Linked DNA regions of Homo sapiens: region 2 is linked to region 1. The links are contacts of gene promoters, found by promoter capture Hi-C in human tissues and cell types (Jung and others, 2019). All regions are on one chromosome and are shown on one strand. Each heading gives the region's core, a stretch centred on a gene start or on the middle of the fragment in contact. The rest is flanking DNA. Distances are from core to core; before and after follow the strand shown. Region 1 holds the start of AQP4 (aquaporin 4). Region 2 overlaps CHST9 (carbohydrate sulfotransferase 9).

Region 1 (7,773 bases), core at 2,263-4,762:
AGGCCTCCCACCACACTGGGAGGTGTGACCAGATAGAGGATTCCTGCTCCAATGATGGCCCCCAGGCACTGGGCTGCGATGTAGAAGACAGACTTGGCGATGCTGATCTTCCTGGTGCACACCATGGCCACAGTCACTGCAGGGTTGATGTGGCCACCGCTGATATGGCCAAAGCACTGCACCATGGTTGCAATGCTGAGTCCAAAGCAAAGGGAGATGAGAACCATGTCGACCGGTAAAGGCTTTTCTGTTCCACCCCAGTTGATGGTGGATCCCAGGCTGAGGAGAACAAAAATAAGCATGGCCAGAAATTCCGCTGTGACTGCTTTCCAGAAAGCTTGAGTCCAGACCCCTTTGAAAGCCACCATGATGTTCTCTCTGGTACACAAAGGTCCACACTTACTGAAAAGAGAAACAAATCAGCATCAGAAGCCACTACACCCAGGTTTATGAATTTAGGTGAAGGGAACAAGGCCTGCCATCTTCGGGTACTGTGGGCAGGGGCTGCCAGGCGTGATTTGCACACCAAGAAAGAATGCTTCTGCTAAAGCTCCTTCATGAATAGTCAAGAGACTGTTATTCTAGTCTCCTTTCATTTAATATTCAAAGATCATCCAGTTTCACGGAAAATTATCCAAACTGTCCCTAGAAAGGAAAAATGTCTAAATCAAATTCCTTAAAATATTAAGAATAAAATATATTTACCTTGTACTTAATTCCCTTAGAGCAAGTTTTTAAGTTTCGAGTACATTTTATATGCTACTTACATTTCGAACATAAAGCATTAAAACAAGGTGTGCGTGGGGGGGGGGGGTCGTCTTTTCTAGCTTTGCATTTGATTGCTTTGAAATGGCATTCTGAAAATCTCCCCCTCCCCCCAGACTCTGGATTAGGGGGAAGCCTTCTAGGAAACCAGGGTGCTGAAGGCTGTCTTTTGAGAAAGTGAACTCATTGAGGGGAGAGGAGCTTCTGGTGACTAGCAAGGGCGATGGGAACAGGCAGGGCCTCAGCTGGGACAGCGACACTCCCTCCCTCTCCTTTGCGCCAGGAACGAGCAGGCTGCCAGCGGGAGGAGTCCGGGAGCTGAGCCTGCCCAAGGGACACGCGCACCGCCCAGATCTGGGAGCGCGGCACGGGGACGTGTAAACCTCCGTCCCCAGGGAGCCTGGAGCACCTCTCAGAGGGCGGAGCAGCGGCCATTCCCGGCCCGTGGCAGGCTCCCGGGCGGCGGCCAGGTGCACACGCAGAAGCGGCCCCGCGAGCTCGCCCGCCTGCCCGCCGGCCCGGTGCATCCTGGCCGCTGGAGGTGGGGAGAGATGGGAGTGGGGGATGCTTTTAGGGGAGGAAGGACAGCCTCTCCTCGTGCCCGACCCTCTCTCACCCCTTGACCCTGACCGTACAATGCAGATAAACCTGCCAAAGGGAGCCTGGAGGCTGGGGTGTGCCAGCAATGCCCCGGTACCTTTCCTGCCTTCATGGTGCAGAGCTCGGGAAGTCAGGAAAAGCGGGTGTGGTTAGGGAAACTGTGGGCCCCTGAGCAGAAGGCTCTATGGAAAACGGCTTTTCTCTACGGTCTTTTTGATGGCTTTCTGTTACATGGGCCTATAGGACAGTGTGTCTCACCTTGTGGAGCTTCTCTGGGGAGGGTGGTGGGCAGGGAGTCTGGGAGAGGGAGGACGCCTTCTCCTCCCGTCTATATCCCTCTTGCTGTCATTAGATCTTTGGAGCAGAGAAGGGGTGGTTTGACGATATTGATGCCAACTGCTCATTCTGGCAGGAAATGGCTAGGATTCCCCTTTTGGGGGGGGGGGGCAATTACCCCAGTTACCCTATCATCTAAGACTTTTGCCCTTGTCCTTTGCCTGTGATAGTCATGAGAGCCAAGAAGTATGGAGAGTATTTACCAGAGAATCTAATTGCAGAGGACCACGTAAGGGGTTAGGCAAGAAAGCCAAGTACTTTAAGAGATTAGTATTATTGTGGCTTTCCCTTTGACAAATTGCGGGGCCCTCATTTCCCCATGTCACTGAATGTTCCCGGGAACCTGCTTTCTGCGTGGGTAGTGAGGAAATGCAGTGCCAAAAAGGGTGAGGGGAATTTCCAGCTCAGCCTAGCCCTTAGTTTGCTATGGGGCTTTGCTTTAGAGGTGGAGAGAGAAAAACCCTTTCTTGCCCAGGCCCGGGTGGCAGGATAAAGGAAGAGCTGGCTCCACAGGGGGGTGGCCAGCCACATCCCACGCATCCCCTGCCCCAGTGAAGCGAATCTCAGAAGTATGAAAAACCCCAGGTGGGATGACAACGACATCATACTCTCTAGAGGAAAAGAATGTAAAGAGACAAAAACGATGGTTGCAATGGGGCAGGGAGGGCACCCTGGAGGAGACACTAAAAATATTCCCAAAGACGGTAAACTCAGAAAAGTCACATATTGAAGAAGTTAGGAGAGTCACTTCTGAACTCACCGGCAGCCCAGGGCTGTAGCCGGGATGGCAAAGGGGGCAAAATGCGATCATAGGTGCTGTCGTTTGTGGTCAGGGTTAGGGGAGAAGGAGGAGGACAAAACAGTAGGCTAAGGAAGCTAGGTGGGCAGGAAACGTCCTTTTCAGCCCCGCAGGAGACACCAGAAGAGGTGGGACCCAGAAAAGGCCAGCCCCGCTGCTCACCCCCTTCACCTCTCACTTCTGCCATTTCCGGAGTTCTCTCCCTGCTTGGCCTGTCATGCACCTGTTTACCTCTCCAGAGGTAGTTGCTCTTTCAGCTTCAAATATTCATCAACCAGAGAAATTTAAAACAGTGCAAAACACCAACACAAAACATAAACATGCTCTTTAAGAATGTTTTTAGCTTTTTTTTTTTTTTAAATCCACAAAAATCTGATCTTCTTCCAAGGCAGATGGACCAGCCTCACTTGGCTGTGAACCGTGAAGTTTGCTGGCAGCATATACATATCTCTGGCCTTATGAGGGCTCACCCTAGCGTCACCCATAGCACCCTGCTTTTATTGTCAGTGTTCCCTTATATGTTCACAGTCACTGGAAATGATCAACACAATTAGATTTGCTTCTTTTGCCCCAGAACAAAGCGGGTTTGTTGATGTACTGAATCGGACACATTACTTTCTAGCTGAACACTCAGCTTCATCCACTCCAGGACAGCTGAGCGTCTGGGTGAGTAATTTTTCCGAAGAAATGTACTATAGCTAGATTCACCTCCATAGGGTAATTTTCCTGGGCTTTTGCAGATCTGAAACATATGGAGGATTTGGCTAAAAAGCATCCCTTTTCTTCTACCTTCTCTATGCCTCTCTTCTGAAAATGCCCAGTACTCAGATCTAAAAGAACCACCCACCTGCCCTATAGCTGCCTTCCAGATTCTGCCTAAGAAGGCACAAACATCTATAATAAAAGAGACAGTTTCATCTTTTGGCCCTAAGCGTTGTTCCCTTAAGGCAAAGAAGGACTTACCCCCACCGCCTTGCTGTGGGTCTGTCACTCATGCCTTCCCCAGCCAGAGTGCAGCTCTCATTGCCTGCCCCGCAGCTCCCTGTGTGCTGGGAGTCAGATTACGGCCACTTGTCTGATTGGGTTTTTGGAGTGTTAGGGGTGGAAAGATTCTGCACCATGTGGCAATCGCTAAGTTATATTTGAACTTGAAGTAGCTTTTCTGTACCTGATCACTGTAGACACAGGGCATTTCAGGAATGCAAAAACATTTACTTAATTTTTTTTTTTTTGAGACAGTAATTTTTGAAAATGAGGATTTCCTTAAATCTTTATTTGAATTCTTTCTACCATGAAGAATTGTTCAGAATTTGTCTTGTTTGGTTATATGTTGTAGTTGAAATTGGGCAATTATTAGAAAATGAATTTGTATAATCCAGCAGTTAACATGAATTTAGATAGAGACTTCAGTGCATTTAGTTTTTAGCCAATGAATTCTGTTTGAAGTTTTTGATCTGAGAAGAAGCATTATAAGAACAATATATAACTGCAGCTCCATTTATAGCACAGGCAGCACTGATTTGGACAATAAAAATAAGGAAACATAGGAAATACAGGAAAAAAGACTGCTCTAGGGTGCTCACCTGACTGTTACATTAATAATCTGGGGATAAGAAGTAGCAAACTTAAAAAATATCAAAGTTGGATGGGGACGAAATTATGGGGAACTGTAGGTAAATTTAACCTCTGGAAACTTAGGGACAGGACTGATTTTATAATTTACTGGTCCCAGTGCAAAATGAATGCAGGACACCTTGGTAAAACACTATTTAAATTTCAAGATTGCGACAGCAGAGCATAAATAAAGGCTGGGTGCTCCTAAAGGCAGGACCTTGTGCAGCTGCGCAGGCTGCATGCTTATGAAGACGTCCCTGCCGAAGGAGTTTGGTGAACTCTAGAAGGGTCTAACCATTAGCTACCTGCATCACCATCTCATTATTATTTTTTCTTTAAACAGATCTTAGGTGCATGGGATTGGAATAATCAGAATTCCTGATTTATGACACTCTGTCATCACTCGTGCATGTATGGCCCTCTTATTTTCTAATAGTTAATTATAATGGCTTTTAAATAATGTAATGAACATCTATGAACCCACCACTCAACCCAACATCTAGAACAATGATAATAACTCACATTACCTACGGATGCCTCCCTTTTCCCACTTTATATTTCAGATTGGATTATTTTTTTCCAGAATGAAGTATGACAAGAAAGAAATACATGAGAGAAGAAAGACTGTTATACTTTTAAATCCCAGTTACAGTTTTTTTGTTTTGTTTTCATTTGCGTACTTGAGACATGGGAATGGGTGAAGAGCTCTCATTAGAAAGAGGAATTCAAAATTTGAGTGTGACTTTCAGAGGAGCACTTTATTACTGTTTCAAGCATTCTCAGCTAACCAAGATTGAATTTAGATTCTTAAGAATATGGTTGCACACTTATTATTGTACATCAGTGGTTTCTACCTTTAATATGCTCCCTGAAAGTCAGAATAAATTCTGATGAGAGGGGCAGGGAGAATTTATATGAAGCCACAGAGAACACTTAAAACATTTCATATTGATTCTTAAAGCTGTTTACCATTTGGATTTTAGAATGAGATTTTTAAAAGGTGCAAAATGTTTGTTACAAATTGGAAAACTGTGAGTTTCTAGGCAGATGTGCTAAATGTCATTACTCTGACCCTAAGACATTTGAGTCAGAAGTATTTTGAGGGCTGTGAAGCTAAGGCACAATGTAGCCATGTTTAGGGGCTTCCTTGTGAATGAGTACGGTGGGCAGATCCTCAGGAATCTACAGAGTGGGGCTCTTTAGGGCTACCGGTCTGGTCGGTGGGTGGACATTTTCTAGGTCCACTCTTTACAGGTTGTCCTAGGCTTATTAGCATTCTCTGCACAGCCTCGGCAGTTGCAGTTACCATTTTACAAAGTGCCAGCAAAACTTGGTTACCACGGTTTCTCAGCCTCTTTCCCTGTTTTCTGGCTGGCTGATGCTTTCCAGGGCAGTTCCTAAGGGATGACTGTTCCCATCAAGGAAGGGGTCACCCTCATTGGCTCCAACCCCTACACTTATTAGTACTCTCAGCAGAGTAGCTTAAAATTGACCAGGGATTAACTCTTCACCTGCCAGAGGTAGTTTTTCTTATTAAGTATTGCTAATTAACCTTTTTGTACTTGAGCTGCTACTACTGATCTTCCTGTGATACTGTCAGCTCTATGCAATAATCAGCTACTTATCTGGCTTTTCTTTGGACTAGGGGCAGAAATTTCCCACACGATTGTCTGTGGCTTTGTATGCAGAATGCGATAATGAAGGAAAGCAGCTATAATGTGCTTGTAGTGGTGGTGGACCACCAGGAGGTGGGAAGCTCTGGTGAACATGAGTAATACCTTCTACATTGAAATGTTTTGATGTGGACCTGGATCCAAGTGAGAGTTGGAATCTAACTGCCCCCCACCCCCCACACCACTGGTATGTTTAAAAGGGCGCAATTCATTAAAAAATTGAATAACAATTTATTATATTTTCTTGACTTTCTCATTGTATAGTGTTACGAACTTTTGGGGGAGGATAGTTACATGGCATATTGATTTAAAATTGGTCTTTATGCCAGACCACCTTGTGAATCTTTAGTTCAATAGCCTTGCGAAGTTGTGGGTCAGTAACACATGAGGAACCAGAGAGAAGCGTAAGTGAAAATGACAAGTACTTAGCAAACACTAGCTAATTGACACGCTTTTTTTGTTGTTGTTTCTGAATTTTTAATCTACTATGCCATACTATTTTCCTTGGGTGCTGTTGTATATCTTTGGGATTTGTGGACTCCTTCTCCCATCCTTGCCCTCAGAACTTTTAATATTTCTTCATGTGTTCAGAGATTGAAAACTGAAACAAAAGCACTAAACATGCCAGCAATGCCTCAGTACCAGACGGGAAGTGTCTCCAGGCTGGTAGGGGCAGATTCAATCGCAACTCATAAATCTTACTTTGCTTTTCATGAATCTCAGCATCATGAATTCCCCCAGAGCACTTATATATCAGTATGTTCATTAAAAACAAACAAATAAACAGAACAACAACAGCAGCAGCAGCCGCAACCACAACCATCACGACGAAGGGCTTAATGGGGCTTTGTTCCTTTTTCAAGGAAGCTTTACCTTATGGTTATAATTCAGGATGGCTTCCAGAAATAGAGTTCACCACCGAAAGAGTGAAATAAAAATAATGATCAAATACAGCAAGGAATCAGAGTGTTTAACTTAGCTTCCTGCTCCTTAGTGAGGTAAATTGGAGAAAACCTATCTTTCCAATGGTTGTTGAACCTTTCACAAACACCATAAATCTCTCTCTGTGCCCCACGCCCCACAGATCCAGGTTTTTATGTTTGGTGTAGCAGGCACATTTTTCTTGATTCAGATCCAGGCGGACTGCTTTGGTGGGGTAGTTGTACTCTGCTGACATTTAAGGCAGGAATTCCCTGGGAAAATAATCAAGAGATTATTTTGGAGCTGCTGGAAAAGCTCCAAAGGGTTTAGGGTTCCCCTCACTAGGCAAATAAGGAGAGAGAACGAGAGGGAGGGAAAGAGAAAACAGAAGGACTTTATTGAGTGACTGTATTTCATCTGAAGCTGGTACAAAAAACCAGAAATGTGGTTGGATGACTGGATACTTTTCTTACACCTTATCTCTTACCCAGCTAATATGACAGCTCAGAGTCTGGTTGGGCATTTAAAAAAACAGCTCAGACGTCCATAGTAGACAATCAGTTCTCCGGGAAGCAAAGGACTTCGGGATTTAATGGGTTGGACAAAATGTTTGAAATGGTTAACAGTCTAAGTGTAGCCTGTACTAGTAATTGTTTTAGAATTTAAATTAAATTTGAATATATTAAAAGCTAAGCCAACATTTTGGTGACCACTCTCACTCAGCAACCTCTGTCATCTACACAGTGATCATTACAGAAGGGCTCAGAGTACCCATATTTTTAGCAGACTGACAAAGATGTTTCCAGCTTCAAGGACAGAAAAGGTGTTTAAAATTCTGTACACATGGGGTATGACTGGCAGAGTAGGCCAAAAAACTAGGTGGTTAAAAAAAATGCTTTCAGAATAATGCTAGAAACAGAACACTTTTTAAAGAAGCAGAAGTGGCCATAATCTGTGACCACAAAAAGAAATGACTGATCTCAACAGTCAAGTTATTTAGGAATGGCCTTCGATGACCTTTCTAATAATTCAGATGCTTTCTTTTTTTCCTTCCTAAGTGATCAT
Region 2 (6,775 bases), core at 4,004-6,503, 89 kb after region 1:
GAGGTGGGTGGTGAAGACAGCAATGAGCATGTGCTGTGTCCAGGCAGAAGGGGTGCGGGCTTGAGCCCAGGCAGTGAGAATGGGAAGGGAGGGACGCCAGGAGCAGGTGGTATTTCTGAAGTAGGTTCTGGAGATTGATTGAATGTGGGAAATACAGGAGCAAGAAGCAAGGACAACACTCAGGTTTTTATTAGGGAATCTGGCAGATGATAGCATTATTAAAGATACAATGAGAATACAGCAAGACCTCATCTCTACTTTTTTTTTTAATTAGCTGGGTGTGGTTGCATGTGCCTGTAGTCCCAGCTACTCAAGAGACTGAGGTGGGAGGATTGCTTGAGCCCTTGAATTCAAGACAGTCCTAGAAACATAGTGAGACCCTGTCTGAAAATAAACAAACAAACAAACAAAAAGATACAATGGGAGAAGGAAAAAAAATGAAGAGGAAGTTAATAAGTGAGGCTTGTGCCTGTAATAAAGAGGAAGATACCTGTAGGTTACAGAAGCTGACATGACAATTACGGCAGATTGAATAATGGCCCCCAACATGTCCACATCCTAATCAGCCTGTGAATACGGGACCTTTCATGACAAAGGGACTTTGCAGATGTGATTCAGTTAAGGATCTGTGGATGGGAAGCTTATCTGGACACAGCCAGTGTAATCATAAGAGTCCTTATAATAAAGGGGCAGGAGAGTTTACAGCAGAGAGAAGGCGAGGTGGCAGTAGCAGCAGGGGTCGGAGTAATGCCATTGCTGAAGAGGGCTGTGAGCCAAGTACTGTGGGCAACCTCTGGAAACTGGAAAAGGGAAGGACATAGATGACTCCTAGAGCCCTGCAAAGGAACGCAGCCTTGCTGATACCCTGATTTTAGTCTGGTGAGGCCCATCTGAACTCTGACCTTTAGAATTGTAAGATGCATACATTTGTGTTGTTTTAAGCCACAGAGTTTTTGGTGATTTGTTACAGCAGCAAAAGGAAATGAATTCAAACAAGTTCTTATGCTTTTTCTCAGCTGTTCCTCAAGGTACGGGGAGGAAAGCACACTGCTGCTGAGTAACTGCTGTGCCCTGGGCCTAGGCGACATACCTCACAGACATTATGTCCTGAAAAGTAGAGATTATTCCTCCTATGTTTTTAAAGATTATGTGACCAGGGCTCAAATACATGCAGAAACTTGTCCAAATTTTCATGGTCTATGGGTGAAAGGACAGCCAGCATTCTAAGGAACAACATAGCTACTCTTAAGACATAGAAAAGCAAACTTTCATTATATAAAAAAGACATATGAACATGCAGGTTTTTAGCAGCACAATTCGCAGTTGCAAAAATGTAGAACCAACCTAAATGCCCATCAACCAGTAAGTGGATAAAGAAAATGTGGTATATATACACCGTGGAATACTACTCAGCCATAAAATGGAATGAAACAATGGCATTTGCAACAACTTGGATGGAGCTAGAGGCCATTATCCTAAGTGAAGTAAGTTAGGAACAGAAAACCAAATATCACATGTTCTCATTTATAAGTGGGAGCTAAGCTATGAGGATGCAAAGGTGTAGAAATGATGTAATGGACTTGAGGGACTCAGAGGGAAGGGTTGAGGGAGGGTGAGGGAGAAAAGACAACATATGGGGTACCGTGCACACTGCTTAGGCGATGAGTGCACCAAAATCTCAGAATCACCACTGAAGAACTTATCCATGTAATCAAGAACCACCTGTTCTGCAAAAATTATTGAAACAAAATTTTTTTAAAGCTAACTTTCAGGATAAAACTAGTCTTTTTTGTCTCATATTTGGGTCTTATCCCTCCAGCTTTTGGTTAGAGGATTAAAGAGGGAAAAAATAAAAAAATTGACAAAGTTGTCTGACCGGCAGATTAAGTGGAGAGTCATCCCAGATTTCTTAAATTTTAATCTCATTATGTCTTCACAAAACAAAGCAGAATAAACTGCAGAGGCAGGTTGCGCACACTGTTGGCTCATCTTATGATGAAGGTGGTGTTGAGACACTTCTGTGCATTCATGAGCTTCAGGAATAAAATTTGTAGAAACAGCCCTAACCCACTATCATCAACATGGGTGGGGAAGGACCTATTTCTCTAAGATTTATAATTCCAGGACAACTGCCTCAAATTCTCCAAACTTTGCAGTGAGACTCACTAATTCTTCTCATTGTAAGTTGCTTGATTAATCACCCCGAACTGATTAAAATTCTAGGGAAAGTTATTTTGCTGCCTAAACAGTTTAAAGCAGTGGTTCTAAACCTCTTTCAGGTAACAGGCCCCTTTGAGAATCTAAGAGCAGTTATGATTCTGCATTTCAGAAAAATGCCAACACACAGGAAAAAAGGGAAAATGGCAGGAGGCTAATAGACCTTCTTCAGCCATGCATAGATCTGCAAGAATCTATCTGTTGCTCAAAGTCTTTTTGTTTTTTTTTTGGTCAAAGGGATTTGGAAAATACTTCTTTTCTAGGTATCTCAGTAGGAACTTTACTCTCTCAAACCATAAATTTGTAGTGCCTTACATAAAAAGTTACAATTAAATCAACATAAATCTTTTGTTTTAATAAATAAAGCACATTCATGGCTTAGATTTTAGATCACATTTATAGATGAGGAAAATTTCTAGGCCCAAACAGTAACAGTGAAGCTACTACTGCTGGAAGGAATAATGTGCCACCTGTGTCTTAAATCTCAAGAGCAGAGACTTCAGGGCAGAGAACACCATACACATCACCTCTAGACTAGGTTGCTGGGAGCCAGAGGAAGATCTTGGTGAAGTGCATGCAGCCACCATCTGCTCCCATCACCTAATGCTGCAGAACCAACTGGAGCTGTGCTACTTTGAGATAAACTAGAGGTGGGTTCCTGATCATATTACATGACACTCTCTCCCATTGTTAGCAATTAGGCAAGGACATTAGTGACAGAGGGGCATCCACTGAAAAAGACAGAGCAATACTCGAACAGCAAAGAGGAAGCCACTTAGACATTCTTGTTTCTTCAAATATCAGAAGCTTCCACATCATAGCAGGAGGGCTAGGGATGGACTTCACCTCCCAAAAGCTGTTGGCATTTGGACCAAACAAGGCTCCCCGGACTTCTGGCATCATCTGCTGGCCTGAGATCCAGTCGGCTTTTCAGGGTGTTGGAAACCTTTATTTTACAATCCCCATTGTGGATCTCAACTCCACCAACTATGTCCTCAGGCAGGTAGGACTCCTGGGCAATTGGGACATCAACAATTGTCTGTGGTGGGGATTTTGTACATAGAGACTGCCTTTGCACCATAGTTTTTACCGGAGGGAAATCTTATTTCCTGCAATGAACAGTCATTTGGGGCTCTGACAATTGGTATAAACCCTGGAGGACCAGTCCATCCAGCAGCACTTGGTACCTGGGTGTATCTTTTACCACCTTGTGAAAGTTTATTTTGAACCATAGGCTCTAACGTGTGAAATAATTTCTTGGATGTAGGCTTCTCTGGGTAAGTTACTAGTCCCTCAGAACTACAGACTCATTAGCTGTGTAGTCATTTTCTCTAACTTAAGAACTAAAAATGTAAGTTTAATATCTTACAGTATAGTATATTCATTCCAAAAAATATAATACCTTCACTGTGTCAGATACCTCCTAAGTGCTGGGCATGCAAAGATGATACAGCAGGGTGCTTGCCCTCAAGGAGGTCAGGGTCAGGTGGCAGAGAGAAATAAGTGAAGATAAACTGCAGTGCCTCCTGAGAAGTGTTTTCATAGAGTTATGGTTAGCAAGCTGTGGGCACACAGATGGGGAAAACCAATATGATTGGTCTTGGGAAACAAGTAGGTTTCCCAGAGGTATGCTGTCATTAATCACTGCTATACTCCCTTTTAACTCATGCAGGAATATGTCTTGAACAACCAGGGACCATGATTTTAATTGATTTATTATTAGCCTTTCACTTCTTGGAGTTCAAGAATATCTCTTGAATATGGATATCTAAGTATCTGTATTGTACTATCTATTGGATATCTCTTTTGCATGTCTGAGCAAATTCTAGAGATATGGTGAGTTTAAGAACTTAAAAATAAGTTCAGAGATAGGACCTGTCTTTGTAACAGGAATCAGAATAATTAGAAGGTGGAATTTGAATTAGGTCTTCAAAAATGGATGGAAGTTGGGGAGAATAATGGTGATGACTACCCTAACTAGGGGAGAGGGTTTAGAGAGAAACAGCATTGCCCAGGCAGGTCTGGGTCAATTGCTTTATGTTTAAAGCGATAGACAATTTGGGGGGCAATTATGGTTTTTTCAGCAGAGGTGGGTTATAAAGGAACATTAAACTGGTAAATAAATTGCTCAGAGTAGGGGGAGAAATTGGAGAATATCTAGGAGGCATTGGTGGGTTGCACAAAGTAAGTGATGGGTTGGGGCCTAGACTAGGGAGGTAGAAATGAGAAGGAAAATGAAGAAAATCAAAGACAGCCTGTTGAAGAAATGTTTGAAAGAAATTGGTAACAAATGAATACAGGGAATAAAGATTAGAAGGAGTTGTACCTGACTTTATTCATTCATTTATTCCAACAAATACTGTTTGATCAGCTGTCAGGTGTCATGTATGGATGGGTACAAAGTTCTGGAGACCCAACTGTGAACAAGACCATTGCTCCCAATTAGCCTGCTCCTTTCTCCCAAAGAACTGGTTGGCTCTGTTCTCCCCTTTTCCATGACATTGTCTCTTTCTGTACTATCACCTACATTTAGCATGACCACTTCTGTAGGGGTGCTTGAACTGTTTTGAAGGTGCCACATGTGAAGTCTTGAAATGGGGCAAGGAAAAGAAGATGAGATTATGAATCTATTCCTCTTTCCTGGGGTGCAAATACGCCCATTATAGATCTGCACATGTAGAGTAATTTCATATTCCAGAACTGTGGAGTTCTGGAGTATCACATCCCCCTCTTTTCACCATCAAATTGTATTTTAATAAGGAATCTGAGAATCTGGGAAAGAGGGCCAATATGGTGATCTGAAACAGGGCAGATTTGGTCATTCAGCAGACTGGGGCCCTGTCCTTACCTCTCAAAGAAGCATAGAGAGGAAGCTATTGCTTATGAAAAGGCACAGGACGAGGAAATAGCTCAAGGGGCCAATGACAGGGTGGGGAACAGGGACTCAAAGAAGTCCATGGGTAGCAGGACAGTGTGTCAGTGTCTTCAGAATATATCTACAATGCATGCTGTCTAACCACAGTCCCCAATTTGTTGAGCCCATCAACATGTCTCCCCTGGACTATGCTGTTAGCCTTCTGGGGTCTCCCAGTTGCCACTCTGGCTCTCTCCAAGTTCCTTTCTTCATCTTGTAGGCCTTGCACCATCTGCTTCTTTCCTACCACCTCTACAACCTTGCCTTGCTGTCTGTTTCCCTTCCTTTCTACCCTCCATCTACTCTGGTCTTATGTTCATTTCTGGTCCTTTTTGGCCTCTTGTCTTTTGCACATGCTGTTATCTTCTCTCTCCAATTTTGCAGGTCTGGTTCTTTCATATTTTTCAAGTCTCACTTTAATATTAAGACGTCAGGAGTTCTTCCCTGGTCACCCCATCTCTTCTTGTGATTCTTGATCTCAGCCTATTGTTTCTTTCATAGCACTTACCACAAACTTGCAATTATTTTATTTGCAGGTCTGGTTACTTTTTTGCTTGTTTCCTATTCTATAATGTAAGCTCCTTGAGGCCAGGGACTACATTCATTTTGTTTATTGTATCCTAAGGACCCAGCTCAGTGATACTGAGACCACTATCAATTATTCCATAAATATATGTATTGAACACCTAGAGTGTTCAATATATATATTGATCTCAGTGGGTGAAGCCTTGCACTAGCCTCCAACATATTGAGGGCAGCTGCTCCTGGCCCTGGTTTGCTCATGAAAGAAAGGGTACATGGGTTAAAAATCTTTAGATGGATGATATTAGGGCCTGAGTTTGACTGCTGATGAATTCTGGGCCATATCAAATGCTTTGTTTGTGATAGCAGCCCTTTTCATATTCGTTCCCAACTGATTTTCCAAAATGTTTAAGCACCTCAATAACAGGAATTACACCAGAATTCTGTTTTTTTTTTTTTTTGTATTTTACACATCTATACCATCATAGTTCTGTATTAGGAATACAGTGTGCTCCAAATTATGGGAATTGAGGGGAAGGACTGAGAGTTAATTCTACATAACTTACAAGATCATGATTTGCAATTTTCCTGATGATTAACCACATTATACTTGTCCTTTTAGTTTGAATTTACCCAAATTTCTACCATTTTTCCACTAAACTATTTACTCAAATAGTTTTTTTGGGGCACAGCTGTGGTAAATATATGCACTTTCTTTTAATTACTTTGTGCAGTGTGTGTAGCAAGGAAGCCTTGGGTAGGCTGGACAGCACAAGTGCAGGCTGAAATTGAGAGCCCAGGCACTGGAGAAGAACCCAAGACACAAGCTTGGGGTGTGTCTGGGGATGACAAGAGAGGCTGGATACAAGTTTCCTTGGCAAAAGGTCAGAGGGAGTCCAGCATTCATGACATCTGTCCAAATAAGGAAGAGGCAGGTGATTACTGGTGGTAAGGAACATATCCATGCTTTGGAGGGACTTGGGTACCAGGTCATGTACAACTCAGGAAAGAAGGCAGGAGCTCAGCTGCTGGGGGCCTGAAGGGTAAAGCAAGGGCTGATTCAGAAGGTAACAGGGCAATCTTCCAGTGACTGAGGTCACGCAGTCAGTTGAGGATCAGGGG

The links. The method cuts DNA at HindIII sites, captures the fragments that hold promoters and counts their contacts. A contact is called where the count stands out against the background at its distance.
Region 2: a contact is called between a fragment that was not itself captured here and the fragment with the promoter of AQP4 in region 1, in 2 of the 25 tissues and cell types used here (dorsolateral prefrontal cortex and lymphoblastoid cells).

Annotation. Positions count from the first base shown.
Region 1 is chr18:26,862,195-26,869,967 of GRCh38, forward strand. AQP4 (aquaporin 4) reads right to left here and starts at 3,513. Exons shown (of 5, transcript NM_001650.7): 1 at 3,464-3,513; 2 at 1-402. The coding sequence starts at 3,495. AQP4-AS1 (AQP4 antisense RNA 1) reads left to right here and starts at 3,114. Exons shown (of 8, transcript NR_026908.1): 1 at 3,114-3,166. RefSeq lists an enhancer at 762-1,262. The HindIII fragment of the contact is 8,928 bases long and covers 144-7,773 here.
Region 2 is chr18:26,949,126-26,955,900 of GRCh38, forward strand. All of the region lies in intron 4 of CHST9 (carbohydrate sulfotransferase 9), which reads right to left. It also overlaps the pseudogene ATP6V1E1P2. Among named protein-coding and RNA genes, the nearest start is that of AQP4, 87 kb to the left of the region's middle. The HindIII fragment of the contact is 6,843 bases long and covers 1,833-6,775 here.